Regions from separate parts of the Homo sapiens genome. Here regions 2, 3, 4, 5, 6 and 7 are each linked to region 1. The links are contacts of gene promoters, found by promoter capture Hi-C in blood cells and fetal thymus (Javierre and others, 2016). All regions are on one chromosome and are shown on one strand. The core of a region is centred on a gene start or on the middle of the fragment in contact, and the rest is flanking DNA. Distances in the headings are between cores, read along the strand shown.

Region 1 (2,524 bases), core at 15-2,514:
CAGAAATCCATATATTCATAAATTTCATCCTCTGCAACAACCATTCACCCATTCCTATAGATTCTCTTCCCTTCCACCTCGTTCTTCTCTTGAGCCCTCAACTCATCAGCCTAAGCACCTGAGTTCCTCTGGTGGACGCTACATTCCTCTCCACGGCCTCCACCCTCCAGGTTTTCATCCTTCAGCACATCACCCTTGCTCTACACACCCCTCTCTCCAACTTCCCCTCTCCTCTTTCAAGGAACTCACTCCATCTGTGCCCCCTAATCAGTCTATCCTGGGTACCCGCTTTGCTGGCCGATTACAATCATCCCATCACTTCTCTACCCCTGTTCAGTAGAGAACAGCTTTATCCAATCAGCTTTACCACACCAATACCCTCAAACCCCACTACTGCCCCCAGTTCACAAACACCCACCCTTTCACTTTTCAGTCAAAACACAATTGCTCAGGCAAATCCACGGCGACTGAAAGTAGATCAATAGTGTAGGGGAGAGAAGGAGGAGTGACTGCTAATGGGTACGAGCTTCTTTGGGGCGGGGGGGGCGGTGATTAAAAATGCTCTGGAGTTAAGGGTGGTGATGGCTGCTCAACCCTGTGAATATACTAAAAACCACTGAGTTGTACTTTTAAAGGGTTAATTTTCTGATATGTTAGTTATACCTCGATAAACTATGAATGTAAAAAGAAGAAAGAAAAACCCAACAGCTATTGCTCACCCTGCCCATCACACGCCCATTTGTCAGACCAACACCGCCCCATCTCCGGAAGCACCGACTTGGCCTTCGGTATCCCCCAACTCCCAACAGCGGACTCGGACAGAGGTCCGTCCGCTGTCAGCACAGCCCCTCCGGGTGGCCCAGGCGCCCGCGGGCAGGGAAGGGAGGGTCCCTTCGCCGCCGCCCCGGGGCGCTGGCCGGGTTGCGGAGGGTGGCCCCTGACCCCCTCTGACAGGAGGCCGGGGACAGCCAGGCTTTCGGGCCCGGCCGCGCTGAGGGGGGCGGCGCTACAGCCCACCTGTCTCAGCCGGCTGGGGGATCTGCTCCAGCTCCACGGACCCGCGGACGGATGGGAGGGTGGCAGAGGGGTCAGGAGAAGTCGCTGTCGCCGCCGCAGCCCAGGTGGCGCACACCGGCTCAGGCCTCCATGTTTCCACGTCTCAGCGGGTACAGATCCGGCTCCGGTCCGGCCTGCAGCTCGGCCCCGGCTCGGCTCCAGCCCGGGCCGCGTCGGTGCGGAGGCCAGGAGGCGGCGAGAGAAGAGGGAAGCGACCGAGAACGCGGCTAGGGACCAGACCCCCAGGCGCGCGCGCCAGCCAGGTGGTCACGTGGCACGCGGCGCGCGCGGGCTTCTGGAAACTGTAGTCCTTTGGGTGTTATTCGTGCCTCCGCCCTCCTAGTACCTCCTGGGCTACCGCAAAGCCACGTGGCGAAATCGAGAAGCGCAAAAACAGCCGTGCGCGGTGGCTCACGCCTGTAATCCCAGCACTTTAGGAGGCCGAGGTGGACGGATCACGAGGTCAGGAGATCGAGACCATCCTGGCCAGCATGGTGAAACCCCGTCTCCACTAAAAATACAAAAAGTAGCTGTTTGAGACAGGATAATCGTTTGAACCCGAGAGGCGGAGATTGCAGTGAGTCAAAAAGTAGCTGTCTGAGGCAGGAGAATCGTTTGAACCCGAGAGGCGGAGATTGCAGTGAGTCGAGATCGGGCCACTGCACTCCAGCCTTGCGACAGAGCTCGACTCTTCTCAAAAAAAAAAAAAGAGAGAGAGAGAGAAGCGCAAAAACCTCACCTGCCGGGTGCTAGAGTCAACCTCACCTGCCAGGTGCTAGAGTCCTCGCTCATGCTACACCGCTCGTTCTGGCGGCTTAACCTTATTAAGGCCTCTGTTAATTGCAGCTGAATAACCATCCCAAAGTCAAGCAATATTGTGTGGGATTCTGGAGAATTGAGAAATAGCAAAATAATTTTTGATGGAGGCAGCTGGCAGGGCTAGCCCTGCCTGCAAAGTTGTCGGAAAGGACAGGTCCCACGGGAAAGAGTAGCAATATGAGATAGTGCCAAAACTATGGAATTTGAAGTCAAATGAGCTGAGGTTTCCACACTGACGTCTTTGAGCAATTACTTCACCTCTCTCAGCCAGTTTCCTCACCTAAAATATATGCATGATGATGATTCTGCCATTACAGGAAATGTTGACATGACTGTAGTAATAACAATTCACATTATGGATTATTTTCTATTTGCCATGCACTATTATTTCGCAAAATGACCCTATGGAACAGATAGCACCGTTATTCCCATTATATAGTCAATATGTGCCAGTGTACTCTGTAAAGTACTATACAAATATTAGGTATTCTTTTCTAGCATAGACTGCCAGTAAATTCACTGAGCTTGCAGAATTATGACAGGAAAACATATTAAAACCCAAAGTAGACTGGGCCCTGTGGCTTATGCCTGTAATCCCAATACTTTGGGAGGCTAAGGTGGGAGGATCACTTGAGCCCAGGAGTTCGGA
Region 2 (2,524 bases), core at 15-2,514, 930 kb before region 1:
TAACTCACTGGCTCTGAGGCCCACAGCTCTGGGTAGACCACCACCTACCCACTGGCTGCGTGCCCCTTGGTAAGCTACTTCACCCCTTCCGGTCTCAGTTTGTTCCCCTGTAAAAGTTGCTTTGCCAACTAAGTGAGACAAAGCACACAAAAAAAGTTTCGCTTGTTGCTCTGTAAATAGTAATAGCTCAATTAATATAGTAGCTATTGTTCTTTGAAAGGGGACTTAGAGATCCTGGAAGGCTCAAGGGCAATTATTTTGCAGATATTTCAGAACAAGACTTGAGCAGACAGGATTTATAAACTGACTGAAGAGGGAGACACCTGGGATAGAAAACGGAAGGGCATCTTCAGCAGGGGGACAGTCCCAGCTAGAGGGATCATATTGGCCTAACTCCTCTCTCTGCACTTCCTGTCTTTCAGGCTGTTCTAGATGTGGCTCTTCAAACTACAAAGATCGGAAGTCACTCAACCTAGCGCAAATTAAAGGGGATTACTACAAGAATATGGAGTGTATTAGGCTGTTCTTGCATTGCTATAAAGAAATATCTAAGGCTAAGTGATTTATAAGAAAAGAGGTTTAATTGGCTTATGATTCTGCAGGATGTACAGGAAGCATAACACTGACATCTGCTTCTGGGGAGGCCTCAGGAAGTTTTACTCATGGTGCAAGGTGAAATGAGAGCTTTCAAGTAACATGGTGAAAGGAGAAGCGAGAGAGAGAGAGAGAGAGAGAGAGACAGAGGTGGGGAGGTGCCACATACTTTTGAATGACCAGATCTCACATGAACTCACTCACTATTGTGAAGATAGCACCAACGGAATGGTGCTAAACCATTCATGAGAAATCCACCTCCATGATCCAACCACGTCCCACCAGGCCCCACCTCCAACATTGAGGATTACAATTCCACATGAGATTCAGAGGGAACACAGATCCAAATGATATCGCAGAGGTATATGGAGTCCAAGAGAGGCATAGTGAGGGAGAACTGAAAAGGTAAGGAACTGAGGCTACTCTAAACATGTCTCTTTCCCTCTCCCTCCTCTTTCCCCCCTCCACTCACTTCTTCTGCTTACTTATCTTGCACTCGACCCACCTAAAACACAAGCCTTGACCTGAGCAGCCATCACCAATGAGCAGAGAGAGGTTTCTCAGCCTCTTACTTCAGATTCTTACAAGAGGAATTCTGATTGGCTCAGTTCCTCTGATGGAGCCACATCCACTCAAGTCCAGCCTAGCCCAAGATCCCATAGATCGGGTGTATACCTGTGGTGTGATCAGCACTGCCTTCCCCTCCCATTTTTTTTAGAGTGTAGACTGGCAAACAAGGAAACTTGTCTCTTGCAGAGATGTGGGGTGTATCTTTGTCCAGGCCTTCACCATGAACAAGGCTGTGGTGCTCACGCCACCGACTTAGGAGGTCTGACCTTGAACTCTGGGAGACTTGAGGAATGTCTGATGACTCACAGGCTGACATTGAATCAGTCCATGTCCTTAAATCTTGCAAAAGGAAATCTGCTTATTTTATATTCCCTCATGGACTTCAGGGCTTTGTTTAACAAATATTACAAACCTTTCCTGCTCTGCTGGAATTAAACAGCTTAAAATTCATCCTTTTGGCTACTTAATTTTCTTGCTTCTTTTGCCAGTGAGATTATAACATTCTTGAAGGGAGAATTTCAGGTGTGGTGAAGATCTTAGAGATCATTGAGGCCAACCTTCTCATTTTACAGGTGTGGAAACTGAGGCCCAGAGACAGGAAACGTCACACAGCAGGAGAGGGGCAGGTGGGACCCGGGATCCCGTTTCACACACTGTGTTCCCCAGAGTACCTTGCCATGTCTTAGGCACAGCATTGTCCCAACAAATATTCAATTGCTTTATTTCATATTCTGCTTTTGCTTTTCTCAAGCTCATTGTTCTCTATTCACATCCCTTCTCTACCACCGACTTCAATCTTAGGGGATCACTTTGCATGTGCCTTTCAGGTGTTGGTCTTTGGGGTTGTGTAGTGGAAGGTGAGATGAGGCATGGGTGAAATTTCACCTGGTTCTATCAAGCTGTTATCTCTCCAGGCCAACACCACGGTAACAGAGCGTAGACACTAGACTACCAACTTCCTTCCTTCTGCACTGTCAGTGGCCTCCAAACTGCATGATGAAGCCACTCTCTAGCTCCCACAGTAAGTCACTAGTTCTGCAATGCCTCCTGGGCCAACACCGCATAACAGGAATTTTGGCCACTGCTGACCTTCTCCCAGTGGGAAGTAACAAGTGGATGTAGCCCCACCTTCCTCCCAGAAGCCTTCTCTGATCCTTGTAGCCGACTGGGAACTCTTAGTTCATTTGACATCACTCTCACACAGTGGAGCGCTTCATTCATTTTCCTGTTATCTGCTGGGCATCAGCCTGGTCTCAGCTCCTGAAGGTAGGTAGCTTCTCTCCCCCAGCACCTACCTAGGCTCCCACCAGGCCTTCAGTCAATGTGTGGACTGACCAGTAACTTTTCCCTGGAACAGCTA
Region 3 (2,524 bases), core at 18-2,517, 920 kb after region 1:
GGCTAAAGCAGTAGACCTTTTTCCACCCCTCTCTAAGGTACAGCTATCTATTCTAAGAGTTCGCATGAGTACTTATAGCTACTGCTTTTCTATACACTTTGTTTTCTATTTTATTTTTGTTTATAACAGGCCAGGAACCTACCTTGAAAACTGTATTAAATAAAATAGGAGATGAGATCATTGTAATAAATGAACTTCTAAATAAATTGGAATTGGAAATTCAGTATCAAGAACAAACCAACAATTCACTCAAGGTAATGTTTCTCTAATGAGGAAGCAGTAAAAAAGACAATACATACAAACTCCCTAATCATTAAGTAATTTTTAAGGATGCTTTGTTTATAATGTTTTTTGTTTATAAATTATTAATGGTACAGTATGCCATTTATGTTTTATTTTCCTAGTATAGTGGAATTTGGAGCTCCACAGCTGCTACTTTCTGCTGATGGCCAGTGGAATTGAACTTTACTAAAAAGGAGAGTTTGCTAATAATTCTTGGTAGCTTTAATTTAAACAATGATGTTCTAGTAGAGTGGTATGTAAAGAACACCTGCTTTGGGTGAGGAGATATGGATTCTTACCTTGGTGGTCCTTGGTACTCTCTGCCACCCTGAGAAAGCTATTTTACCTGTTGGGGTTTCAAGAACCTCATCTGAAAAAATAATGGATCATATTGAACTGTTTCTTAGCTCCCTTATATGTCTATATTTCTATATTTTTATAAAAGGTAATATAAGGGTTCTCAGGTAAAGAAAAACTTGAGCCTCATTCACATGCACATTTTATTCTAAACAAGCCTTCAAATTGAGTTCAGCTAATAAAAGTGCTGGTGCACTTCCTGAGGGGGAAATAATCTGTACCATAATTACCTCACATTGTTAGAGCTGGGGAATTGCTCAGTGGGATTGAACAAGGGACCTCCCTGACCCCATTCAGCCTTATAATCCTTAAAGTCTGTAAAGATTGTTCAGCTATAGGAATGGGCATGATTATGCCTATCACTCTAATAGTCAAAATGGAATTGGTATCCATGAATGTCATTCACCTCTTCAAGGAAAAGACATTATATAAATTCAAAACAGAAACCAATACCGGCATTTCAGTTCTAACCTGCCCAAGAATGTCCAGGGTTAGGTGTGGGCCTAGAGAATGCTCAACTCAGAACTGAAGGCTATTTGGAATTTCTGTTCACATTGTGATTGGGAGCCAGATGGCGGGAATCCAAAGGCACAAAATATTTTCCTTATTAAAATGTGTATGAGTTCATAGCCTCAAGTTCTAGTAAAAGTTAGAGACCAAAACACCCCAGCTTTCAAGTAGAAATTTTCATTAAGCTGGCATGTAGGTAGCCCACAGTGGAAGTCATCCTAAAGCAGCATCTCATGCTTGCCAGCTGGGTATATTACCATGCTGTGATAATATGGTTGCTGTTACACAGGTAACACTGGGGAGCATTTGGTAAGCCAACAAACGCAATTTATGAGAATGAAAAACATAAGTTCTTTATATATTTCTTAGTTATCTCCCAAGATTAAAGTATTTGAGAAAGACTTAACTTTAGTCCTGCTTTGTAATTGCAATGTGATTATAGTGATTGTTCCCTGAAAAAAATCCAGTAGAGAAAAATATTACCACCATCCAAAAACAGCTCTAGAAACCAATTTTTTATTGCTGGATTCATTGCTTTTTCACTTCATTCTGCATTTTCGGTACTCCAGTCAATGTGGTTTTTTTTTTTTTTTTTTTTTGAGACGAGCCTTTCTCTGTCGCCCAGGCTGGAGTGCAGTGGCGCGATCTCAGCTCACTGCAGCCTCCTCCTCCCAGGTTCAAGCAGTTCTCCCCCCTCAGCCTCCTGAGTAGCTGGGACTATAGGCGCGTGCCACCACGCCCGGCTAAATTTTTGTATTTTTAGTAGAGATGGGGTTTCACAGTGTTAGTGGGGATGGTCTCGATCTCCTGACCTCATGATCCACCCGCCTTAGCCTCCCAAGGTGCTGGGATTACAGGCATGAGCCACCGCGTCCAGCCACAGTCACTGTGATTATGGTTCACTGTTTTCCCTGCTCTTTAGAATATCTTAAAACACACATGGGGAGGACAGAGACTTATTTGTGAGCACTTTTAAATTTTAGGAACTCTGTGAATCTCTTGAAGAAGATTACAAAGACATAGAACATCTTAAAGAAAACGTTCCTTCCCATTTGCCTCAAGTAACAGTAACCCAGAGCTGGTAAGTGTATTTATAATTATTCTTGCTATCTGGATTTATAAACCCATGAAAACAAGTTCTTCAAAGCCTTTTGTTCTTTCATATACTTGCAGTTTTGTCAGCGATGATCTAGTTTTTTGTCACCTATACTAAAAACAGTATTTCCATGTTCACCAGTTTTCTTATCTTGGTGTCTCTGAGGAAAATCTAACACTTCTTTCCCAGTTTGCCAAGGGCAAGTCTCTCTAGCCTCTCTTTTTTCACTCATTTCTTTCCCTGAGAGCAGTTTGTCAACTGACGTTTGTTCCTTGACAT
Region 4 (2,524 bases), core at 17-2,516, 830 kb after region 1:
CTAGCTGCTTTACATTGCAGAGTGTAGTTAATCTTTCTGAGAACTTTTTCTCATCTATAAAAATGGGCAAAATTAACATCCTCCTAGAAAGACATCTGAGAGAATAATATGAATTAGGTCCAGAATGGGAACTCTCCAAATAGTGCCATGCGGTAAAAGATTAACTCAGCAGGCCTTGGTTGTTCAAACCTTCACATGAAAAAAAAATCTGATATTTGACTGGCTCTTGGGAGATAACCTTAAAGTGCTCAGAATTACTTGCCTAATAAGAATGTTCAGCTGGGCACAGTGGCTCACATCTGTAATCCCAGCACTTTGGTAGGCCAAGGTGGGTGGATCACCTGAGGTCAGGAGTTCAAGACCAGCCTGGCCAAGATGGGTAAACCCTGTCTCTACTAAAAATACAAAAATTAGCCAGGTGTGGTGGCGGGTGCCTGTAATCCCACTTACTCAGGAGGTTGAGGCAGGAGAATTGCTTGAACTCAGGAGGTGGAGGCTGCAGTGAGCCCAGATCACGCCATTGCACTCCAGCCTGGATGACAGAGCAAGACTCTGTCTCAAAAAGAAAAAAAGAATGTTTATATTTACCTAGGATCTTGGTCCACACCAGATAGTTTATGATAGCAATGTGATTTGTGGTGGGGACCTTGGGCCACAGGGTATCAATATGAACTCTGGAGAGGCCGGAGACTGAGTAACCAAGGTCAGCAATGGCACCCTCCATACTCATGTAACCAATCCCCTAATAAAAACCCTGGACACCAAAGCTTGGATGAGCTTCCCTGGTTTGCAATACTTCATTCATGTTATCACAACACTGTTTCTGGGATAATTAAGTGCTGTTTATATGACTCCTCTAGGAGAGGAGAACTGGAAGCATGGTCTTTCCTGTACTATAGCCTATGAGCCTTTTTGCTCATTCAATCTGTATTCTTTTGCTGTAACAAACTAATTGGGAGCTTAGCAGTGTTTTTGTATTCTGTGTGTTCTTCTAGTGAGTCATTGAACCTGAGGATGGTCTTAGGACACCTGACACAAATATCCTTTTTCCTCATATATTATACTTTCAAGCTGATGTCTCTGAAATGTTTAAAGACTGCCAAATGTCATGAACCAGTCATTTAATATCATTGATGAGGAGGACTTGTTTAGTAGCTTTAATTCTAATCTGCTCCCTCCCTACTACAGCTTCCCCGTCCCTAACAGCCACATTTCTTTTTTTTTTTCTAGATAGAGTCTCACTTTTGTCACCCAGGCTGGAGTGCAGTGATGCAATCTCAGCTCACTACAACCTCCGCCTCCCAGGTTCAAGTGATTCTCCTGCCTCAGCCTCCTGAGTAGCTGGGATTAGAGGTGCCCACCACCACACCCAGCTAATTTGTATATTTTTAGTGGAGATGGGGTTTCACCATGTTGGCCAGGCTAGTCTCGAACTCCTGACCTCAGGTGATCTGTCCACCTTAGCCTCCCAAAGTGCTGGCATTACAGGTGTGAGCCACCGCACCTGGCCCACATTTCTTATCACACTCAGGTTCCTAGAGAGGAACAAGTGCACCAGTTTTCTAATCTGACTTCTTCCTTTCCCACTTACGCCCTCTGAAAAAACCAAAAAGAATTAAATAGGCTTGCTTCTCTGGTTTGGTGGTAGATTCTTCTACTTTTTATTCCTACCCAACTCCTACGAACCAATTTCTATCCTGAATAGGTCAGTTTCTATCCATCGCAAAGCTCATCTGTAAATATCACCTTGAATTTTATAGCCTGCAGAAGCTTCCAGTTTGTGTTTTTTAGCCCCAGATCATGATGTCCTTGGTCCTACAGAAGACAGAGCAAATCTGAGGTTTGTCATACACAAAATGGAGCATTATAAAACCCTTTGGTACTGGTCTGTGTTCATGATAATTTTTTTTCTTGATTATCCCTGTGTTCTCTTCCAAAAGTTGCCGTTACAGACACCAGAACACTCCTGTAATTTTGTTAATCTGCAATGGTTTCATATATGAGCAAGTTGTTTCCTCAATGAAATTATAAACTCCCTGAAGGTAAGAACTAAGCATCTCTTGAAGAGTAAACCACACAAGGTGAATTGAATCCACAGTTGTGTTTCCTGCAGTGCTGTGAACACAGAATTGGTTTCATTACCATCTCTGTAATTGTCTATGTGCAAAGGGGGTTTTTAATGTGGCTTCTCGGGGTTGGTTTGAAGGAACAACAGAATAGAGGTGCTTGACCAACAGTTTAAGTTGCCTTCGTCTGGAGTACTGTGGAAGGCCCATCAATAATCTGCAGCACGCAGCATTCCCCAGGCCTCCTTCACTGTTTCTGTCCTTGAAGGTACCTGCTGTTCCCATTTCCAAGCCTGCAGGACCAACTCTACACAGCAAGTTCTCACAATTCAATTACAATCAAATCAAGCAGGCTCAGGAAAATCTCAAGAGTCACTTAGAGCAGCAGGAACCCAGGAACACATGGCTGGTTAACCACCTATTCAGGCACTGTCTCCTGCCTGGGCCAATCCCCTTTT
Region 5 (2,524 bases), core at 16-2,515, 810 kb after region 1:
TGGGCCAGATGCATATTTAACTCTGTGAGGAAGGGCACCAGCTTCTTCTGCAGGACACCCACATCATCGAAGCTGGAGGTGGTGAGAGACTGACATGGGTTCCAGGCCATCCTCGTGGGTTCCAGCTCGTGCTCGTGGGCTCCACTGTGTCCTCGGTCTCCCACACTTTACATCCATCTTCCCTTCCCGAGTGCCTGCCCTGCAGACTTCAAGCTCCAGCATTAGATGCAAAGACAACAGCCTTACAGAGACTGTTTAACCAGCTCCCACAATGGCATGCGGTCAGATCCCTATAATAAATCCCTTAAAATACATATATACATAATCTTTATCTTAGTGGTTCTGCTCCTCTGATTGTACCCTAACATAAATGGTCAGCAGAAGCTTAACTCATGAGTCTAAATGTCAATCAAATAAATTTCATATAGATCATTGTCAAAATTACCAGAATACTGGGGTTGGGTGGTTGGTTCCTGGGGGAAACAAAGCAGTATCAGTCTATCCAGTCTTGACTAGGGCTGAACTAGTTAGGATGGAATAAAGGAAGGGGTGGGGAAGGTGGCAGAGGCTGGACTGTATGAGACAGAACTGGGAAATGGCTAATCCATGTCTGAATTACTTAAAGCTGCAGGGCTGGGACTAGGGTAAGGCAAGGGAGGCACACAGGATACAAAGTTTAAGGAGGCACTCACTCAGTCCTGGCCCTGTAAAGCTGGCTAACAAATTACAGGTCTAATCTTTTTGGCACTTTATGAATGAAGAATTGGGAGAGAGTGAGGTAGGGCTGAGCCAAGACTGGCTCTTGGGCAGGACTCGAAGCAGGAATTCAGCCTCCTAGAACACATTCAGGCTGAGGGCAGGAGCCAAGCACAAAGGTGATCACAGGGCAGGAGATGCACGTTGTCAGGAAAGATGAGCCAGGCTGGCAGCTTTAGTTACAAAGACTGCTCTGGCTGAAGAGGGGGAGTCAGGGTAACAAGCAAAATGGACAGCAGCCAGTGGGGAGATATATCCTGTAGGGTTTGAGGAATCCTATGCAGCACCTGGGGTCTGCAGGAAACCCAGTTTCTGTATGAACAGATGCTCTGACAAGGTGACCCCATCTACATTGAGCCTTGGCACTCCCTAAACCATGCTAGAGACAGGAATGTAAGGGATTTATTATAGTAATTATAGTAATCTGTGTTTTCAAGGTCACCGAAAACTCCTGTTAGTGCATACAGGATTACAGGTTACAGTTTAGTGGAGTAAAGAACAAGGGCTTTAAAAGCTGGGTTTGAGTCTAGGCTCTACTAACACCAGCTGTTCGACATTGGACAAATTAATGAGTCTCAGTTTTCCCATCCACATAAATGGACAAAATCAATGTCTTCCCAAAAATATTATTTTAAGGATTAAATAAACTGGGTCCACAGAGGAACACACCAAATAGCAGTTCCTTTCCTTATTTATTCAATTACATTTTCAATTGCTATCTCCCTGAGGAAGTATGTAGAGACACTGCCAGGTCTCATCCAGAAGCCACTTACAATTACTCATGAACATGGCTTGTTTAGGTTGTTTTGTGGTGGCTTTAATTATATTACCTTTCTCCAACCCAGCTCCCCCACCCTTAAAATCCAACTTCTTATACTCAGGCTCTTGGGGAGGAGAAGATGCACCAACTTTCTACTCTTTCTCTTCCTTTCCCGCTTACTTCTTCTAGAAGCTCAAAGTACTCTTAGGCCTGCTCTTCTGGTTTGGTAGTAGGTTTTTCCTCCTAGGGTTGATTCACACACAAGCCCTGGCAACCAATCTAGGGTCCAGCCCCTAGTAGATCAGTGTTGTCTCTCATAAAGCCAGTCTGCAAATATCACCTTGAATCCTACAGTCTGTAGAAGCCTCCAGTCTACTGCTTTCTAGCTCCAGGTTTTTTAAGGTCTTTGGACCTAGGGAAAAGGGAGCAGGTCTGTATGTTGAATGAGGTTTGCTATGTGCGCAATGGAGCATTACAAAACCATTTCCTACTATTCTGTGTCCTCCATCCACTTCCCCTTAATTATCCTTTATCTTTTTTTATATCTTCTAAAAACTACCATTATAGACAGCTTGTACATAGTCAGATTATAAGCTCCCTGAAGGTAGGTATCCTGTGTCTCCTGAAGGGTAAGCTTTGCAGGGCTCATTGTCCTCAATGCTGTGCACCCAACAGGAACTCAATCAATACTTCTGTAATTGGCCAAGTATAGATGAAAGGGTTTCTAGCCTGGTGGGCTGGTTTGTAGGAGCAAAGGAATCCAAGTGCTTAGGCCAATAGTTTACATCGCCAGTGTCTGGGGCTCTATGCAGGGTCTGTCAATATTCTGCAGGAGCCAGCACTCCTCTGTCCTCCCAACCACCCTAGTCCTTACAGGCATCTACCCTTTGTTCTATGCCAGGACTACAGGGACAGTTCTGCAAGGCATCTGAAGTTAATAACCTCAATAGGCTCAGGAAAGGCTCAAGAGATCCAGCCCAAGCCCTTCCACAGAGGCCGCTCCAGGAA
Region 6 (2,524 bases), core at 8-2,507, 790 kb before region 1:
ATGCACCGGCCATGCTCCAGCCTCTGTTCTAAGTGTTTGCCTCATTTATTTAAAACTCGCCACCACCCAGAGAGGGAGGAACTGTTACCATCTTCTCTTCAATAGATGAAGCAACTAGGAGACCCAGAAATTGAGTAATTTGCATGAGGCTGGGTTGGCTCCAGAATCTGTGTCCTTAATTAATCACCCTCCTGCCTCTTTGCCTAAACAACAGCAACAATATTAGTGGTAATGAAAGTAGTCATAGTAGTAGCAATATATTTACTTCATTATTTATTTTAATTTTGTTATTATTACCAGTATTTACCATTAAACATATGTGTGTATGTTTAAGATATATTTAATGGTAAATACAGATAATAATACATACACAAGAAATATACACACACACATTTATAAACAAACAAGCTAAACATTTATATATATATATATATATATATATATATATATATATATATATATATAAGCTAGACTATATATGTGTGTATATATGTACCGTTTACTGTGGGCTGTCACAGTTCTAAGCATCTAAGCACTCCAGATACATTCATTAATTTAATCCTCCAGCCACCTTAAGATGTTAGACACTATTATCCTCATTTAACAAATGAGGAAACTCATTTGATGAAATGAGTACAGAGAGGTTAAACAACTTGTACAGGGTCCCCAGTTGGTAAGGGATGCAGCGGGGATTCAAACCCTGGGAGTCTGGTTTCGGAATCTGCACCCTTAAATATGCCAAAGATTCAGACCTCTGGCCAGGGAGTTGGGGCCAGCCTCTCTGGCCCGAGGGCACGCCCACTCACAGAGGACATGAAGACAAAGCATAGACTATCTGAGTGGGCTTGCTGGACTGACCCAGAGTCAAGCCAAAAAGGAAGGAAGCCCTATTGGGTTTTCTGCTAGCCCCTGCCAGCCTATGTGACCTTGAGAAAGTTGCTTGGTGTCTCTGTCCACTGATCTTCTGTTCAGTGTAATGGGGCAAGGTGGATGGGCTTTGACAGGAGTTGTGATGAGTAAGGAGCTTAGCTTCTCTGCCTGGAAGGAGCAAGGGGAACTCTGGTTCCTCTCCCACCTCCCTCCAGGTTGGCTGTTGCATTACGGGAGGACCCCCCCCCCACACACACACAGCTTCTCTAGGGCTGTTTCCTCTAGGTGGGACAGCCCCTGCAGGGCTTGAGGGTGGGCAGCACCAGGTATCTGCTGACTGTCCCTCCTCTCCTGCTGGCCGGATGGGACAGGAGGCATGAATGAGCCATCTTTCCAATGCCTTTCTGTCTTTTCTGGTCCAGGTGTGGCAAAGGGAAGCTGGAAGATGGGGATGGCATCAACCTGAATGACATCGAGAAGGTCCTTCCAGCCTGGCAGGTAGGTGCAGGGGCAGGCTCTCTAACAGCCCACCCCCACCCCTGGAGTCCTGATCCTCTTCCTGGACAGGACCTAACCAAAGCACTCCTTCTGGCTGCTTGTTCCAGCAAGGAGTGTAACCGCCTGTATGGTAGTAATAGGCAGGGCTGGCTACCTGCCATTCTCCAGGGTGTCCCATTGTGATCGTGTGTGTGACAGCCTACTCGGTGATGCTGCAGGCCCTGCTGGCAGGCCTGATGTGCCCTAGAGATGAAATAGACCATGCCCTGGCAACTCAGTGAACTTGGAAGTTTTTGTCCCTTGGCCTGAAACCTCTCTGCAGGTGAAGTGTCCTGTGGTGTGTTCAGGTGGGACTGGCAGGCCTGGAAGAGATTCTAATGTGGCTGGGGCTGTCTTTAGGCTTTTGAACAGTGGACTTGCCCTGCTGGCCTCCAGGTGTCTGCTATGCTTGCTCTTTTTTTTATTGATTGGGCCTCTTTCCTGGAATCAGGCCAGGTTCCAGGACAAAGAGGATTCACTCAGTGAATCCAGGTCTCTAGATACTTATAGTGCTGGACTTTTGGTGGAAACAGCAGGAGTCTAGCTGCTCTCAGGAGTGTGACTGGGCCTGCTGCAGGGGTGTAAAAGCAGTGGACCTTCCACAGTGACTGAGTCTGCCGCTGCCAGTGACCATGACCTACCACCACACTCCACTGTGCCACCCTTCCCTTCTCTCCTGATTCTTCTCCTGCTATTTTATCTATATCCATTCATCTCTTCCTGGTGCCTTTGCCATTTTGTTTCTTCTCTGTTCATGCCTTGGGCCTATCAATGAGAGACAATAGAGCATACAGTTAAGACCTCATCTATTTGATTATGATGTGCCTTGGTGTGGTGGTTTTCTTCATGTTTCTCCCACTTGGGATTTATTGAGTTTCTTGGATCTGTAGGTTTATAGTTTCATCAAATTTGGAAAATTTTCAGCCACGATTCCTCCTACTTTCCCTCAACCCTGGGGTTCCAATTGTATGTATTCTATGCTTCTTCATCTTTTCCCATGGCTCACCAAAGCTCTGCCTGATTTTTTAAAGTCTTTCTTTACTCTCTGTGTTTCATTTTGGATAGCTTTTATTGCTATTTCTTCAAGTTCACTAATATTTTATTCCAGTGTCAAATC
Region 7 (2,524 bases), core at 18-2,517, 690 kb before region 1:
CCTGCACTCTCCATTCGCCCTAGTCCCTGTGAAACCACACAGGCTGCTGGCCCCAGTTCCCATCTCCTCCTTGCATCCTCTCCCTCTTCTCAGACCCCCTCCCTCATTTCTGCACACCCACCGCTGAGCCGATGTGCACTCCAGGCATGTAAACTAATTTTAATGTTGGCCCAAGCCAGGCACACCCAGGGATAGAAGCACATTGTTCTGTGCATTCCAAAGCTTGAGCAAAAGCCCTGGCCATACCCACATCGAGCTCCCCTCCACTAGTTGCTAGAAATCAGAAAGGCTGAAGCAAAGGGCCAGAGGCAGTGCAAGCCGCTTTCCCCGTGGGCAGGCTGCACGGAAGCTTGCAAAAGCCCAGAAAAGGGCTGTTTTTCTAAAAATGGCTGGCATCTGAGCTCCCGCCCTGCCCCCTGTGGGCCATCTGTCCCCATGCTGAAGCCCGTGCCCTGCAAGGGACATGCAGAGTTGGCACACACATTTCCCTGAAGGTGGGCACCAACAGGCCTCGTCAGGCTGGCCTGGCATCACAGGAGGCCAGCAGTCACAGGAGCTTGACCCCTGCCCAGGATTCTGTGGCAGCCCTGGGCTCCCCCAACAGGAAGAGCCAATGCCTGACTCCTATCCATGTTCTTTGCCCCTGCGGCCAGAGCCACAGTGGATAGGAGCCGTGTGCCTCGTTGCCAATCTTGTTGTCTGCACTTGCTTTGGGATGAGTAAATATGACCTGCTTTTCTCCAATCTTTATTTCTTCTCAACGCTTATTGAGCACCTGCTATATACCATGCACTGTGGCAGGTCCTGTATGTCTCTGTTCATTTGCCCTCCACTGTGGTCTTTCAATCTGTTTGTGCAAATCTTAAGCATTGCATTCAAGGACCCAGGTGGGATACCTCAATGTCAGTGCTTAGACCAGATCGCCCTGACTGTTCAGTTTGGGTGGGGCGGGGGAACATGTGGCTTCCAGGAGTGCTAAGCCTGTGGTTCTCTCTGGAGCTTTGAAGTGCTCAGTGAGACAGAGCAGCCGATGACCGGATCATAAACAAGCATTTTGATTTTTGAATCTGAAAATAAGCGAGGAAAGAAAATGACCACTGATCCTCAGCCAGTCCTGGAAAGTGCCCAGAACAGCAGCATGCCAGGTGTCCAGTCATCATATCATCAGGGGGGCCTGGGTGCTGCTGCTGTGCCAACTACTGCCCCAGGCCCCCAGGGACCAGTGAGCTTCCTGCAAAACCAAGTGCCCAGCTTCCTGCCTCTTTGCCACTGCGCCACTGTGCCACTGCGCCACTGCGCCACTACTGTGTTCTTCAAAATCACAGAGAGCCCCGCTCCTGAGAAAGCCCAAAGTGCCTTTCTGTGCACGGCATGGGCTTTTACAAGTCTCATGGGCAGTCTACTGCAGGCCTTGTCAGAGACTCTAGATGTGCAGAGGCTGAGGGAGCCTTGGACAAAAGTCACTCCTTTCCCGTGAAAAGTGGCCATTGCCCTGTGTTGTTAGGAGCGTGGGTGGCTCAGGAGGGGAGAGCAAGACCAGCCTGCAGCTTCATGAATCAGGTCAGCTGGGCCATCTGGAGCAGACAGGTGTGGGTCGTGCCCCCGAATCTCATTTCTCTAGACAGGATTTCTTGCCCTGAGGCAGCAACGCTGAGGCCTGAGGAGTAGCAAACCTGTGCAGTAGCATCGATTGCTGCCTCGATGCTGATCTTGAGCATTTAAAACATGTCTCTGCACCCACGTTTCCGTCCTGCAAGGGATGATTGGGTTGTGGTAGAGCTTAAATGAGGTAATGCATGCACGGACCCCAGCTCTGAGCCACACCACTCGGATGGCTCCATCAGTGTGGGTGCCCTGCCCTGGTGGGATGAACTGGGAGGCCCTTCTAACTTTATCCCATCCTAGATTCCCAAAGACCACCCCATGCCTCAGTCTTGGGCAGCATTTCCATTTCCCCCCCCTACGCTGATTAAATGTGGAACAATGAGGGCAGGCAATGAGTGCTTTTAGACTATTGTCTTCCTGGGCGGTGGGCCCAGGATTGACAGGTGTACTCTTCCTCCTAGTCAAATCTGCCTCCTCCAGGAAACCTTCCCTGATCTCCCAGCCCAGGGACCTCACCTTCCTCTGACTCTTGAACATTTACCATGTGTCCCTTTCATGAAGTCTTCTGGGCTCCCCTGTTTAAGCTTTTCTTATCTGAGACTTGTATCTGTGGATGTCTTGGGGCAAAGAATGCGTCTGGGTCATCTTTGTGTCCCACCACCATACTGGTACCCACAAGGTATTCATCAGGCATCAGCTGGCTGGCTCCAGGAGCTTCCTTCACTGGGGAGGAAGGAGCATGGATAGGCAGGCATGGGAATAGCACAGGCCACAGCCACAAAAGGGAATGGCCTGGGGTTTTCTCCCTCTCGCTTCTGGGCCAGGAGAGCTTTACCCAGGTCAGGAATTATTTCACCATCACCCGTGTCCCTTGCCAGACCGTGTCCCCTTCCCTGCATGCCCTCACCCCCCACCCAGG

The links. Contacts are between HindIII fragments. The CHiCAGO score rates a contact against its expected background, and 5 or more counts as called.
Region 2: a fragment that was not itself captured here is called in contact with the fragment with the promoter of DYM in region 1 in 3 of 17 cell types (neutrophils, monocytes and non-activated CD4 T cells); the score reaches 6.4 in neutrophils.
Region 3: a contact is called between a fragment that was not itself captured here and the fragment with the promoter of DYM in region 1, in 1 of 17 cell types (total B cells). The highest score is 7.0, in total B cells.
Region 4: a contact is called between a fragment that was not itself captured here and the fragment with the promoter of DYM in region 1, in 2 of 17 cell types (total CD8 T cells and non-activated CD4 T cells). The highest score is 5.1, in total CD8 T cells.
Region 5: a contact is called between a fragment that was not itself captured here and the fragment with the promoter of DYM in region 1, in 6 of 17 cell types (total CD8 T cells, naive CD8 T cells, non-activated CD4 T cells and 3 more). The highest score is 8.3, in total CD8 T cells.
Region 6: a fragment that was not itself captured here is called in contact with the fragment with the promoter of DYM in region 1 in 10 of 17 cell types (neutrophils, fetal thymus, naive CD8 T cells and 7 more); the score reaches 17.7 in neutrophils.
Region 7: a fragment that was not itself captured here is called in contact with the fragment with the promoter of DYM in region 1 in 1 of 17 cell types (neutrophils); the score reaches 6.0 in neutrophils.

Annotation. Positions count from the first base shown.
Region 1 is chr18:49,459,381-49,461,904 of GRCh38, forward strand. DYM (dymeclin) reads right to left here and starts at 1,265. Exons shown (of 18, transcript NM_001353214.3): 1 at 1,018-1,265. RefSeq lists a silencer at 664-1,243. The HindIII fragment of the contact is 8,649 bases long and covers 1-2,524 here.
Region 2 is chr18:48,533,147-48,535,670 of GRCh38, forward strand. No RefSeq gene overlaps it. Among named protein-coding and RNA genes, the nearest start is that of CTIF, 4.6 kb to the right of the region's middle. The HindIII fragment of the contact is 4,820 bases long and covers 1-2,524 here.
Region 3 is chr18:50,379,997-50,382,520 of GRCh38, forward strand. It overlaps SKA1 (spindle and kinetochore associated complex subunit 1), which reads left to right. Exons shown (of 7, transcript NM_145060.4): 3 at 130-254; 4 at 2,133-2,230. Among named protein-coding and RNA genes, the nearest start is that of SKA1, 6.2 kb to the left of the region's middle. The HindIII fragment of the contact is 2,899 bases long and covers 1-2,524 here.
Region 4 is chr18:50,293,053-50,295,576 of GRCh38, forward strand. No RefSeq gene overlaps it. Among named protein-coding and RNA genes, the nearest start is that of CXXC1, 6.6 kb to the left of the region's middle. The HindIII fragment of the contact is 1,003 bases long and covers 766-1,768 here.
Region 5 is chr18:50,269,613-50,272,136 of GRCh38, forward strand. It overlaps MBD1 (methyl-CpG binding domain protein 1), which reads right to left. Exons shown (of 17, transcript NM_015846.4): 16 at 1,857-1,928; 17 at 1-206. The coding sequence ends at 1,889. Among named protein-coding and RNA genes, the nearest start is that of CFAP53, 4.4 kb to the left of the region's middle. The HindIII fragment of the contact is 1,766 bases long and covers 383-2,148 here.
Region 6 is chr18:48,669,377-48,671,900 of GRCh38, forward strand. CTIF (cap binding complex dependent translation initiation factor) reads left to right here. Exons shown (of 12, transcript NM_014772.3): 6 at 1,293-1,368. It overlaps MIR4743 (microRNA 4743), which reads left to right and starts at 1,224; the gene lies at 1,224-1,292. The HindIII fragment of the contact is 6,169 bases long and covers 1-2,524 here.
Region 7 is chr18:48,769,043-48,771,566 of GRCh38, forward strand. The region is part of intron 9 of CTIF (cap binding complex dependent translation initiation factor); the gene reads left to right. It overlaps LOC107985147 (a long non-coding RNA gene), which reads left to right. Exons shown (of 2, transcript XR_001753444.2): 1 at 1-2,524. Among named protein-coding and RNA genes, the nearest start is that of CTIF-AS1, 72 kb to the right of the region's middle. The HindIII fragment of the contact is 1,840 bases long and covers 348-2,187 here.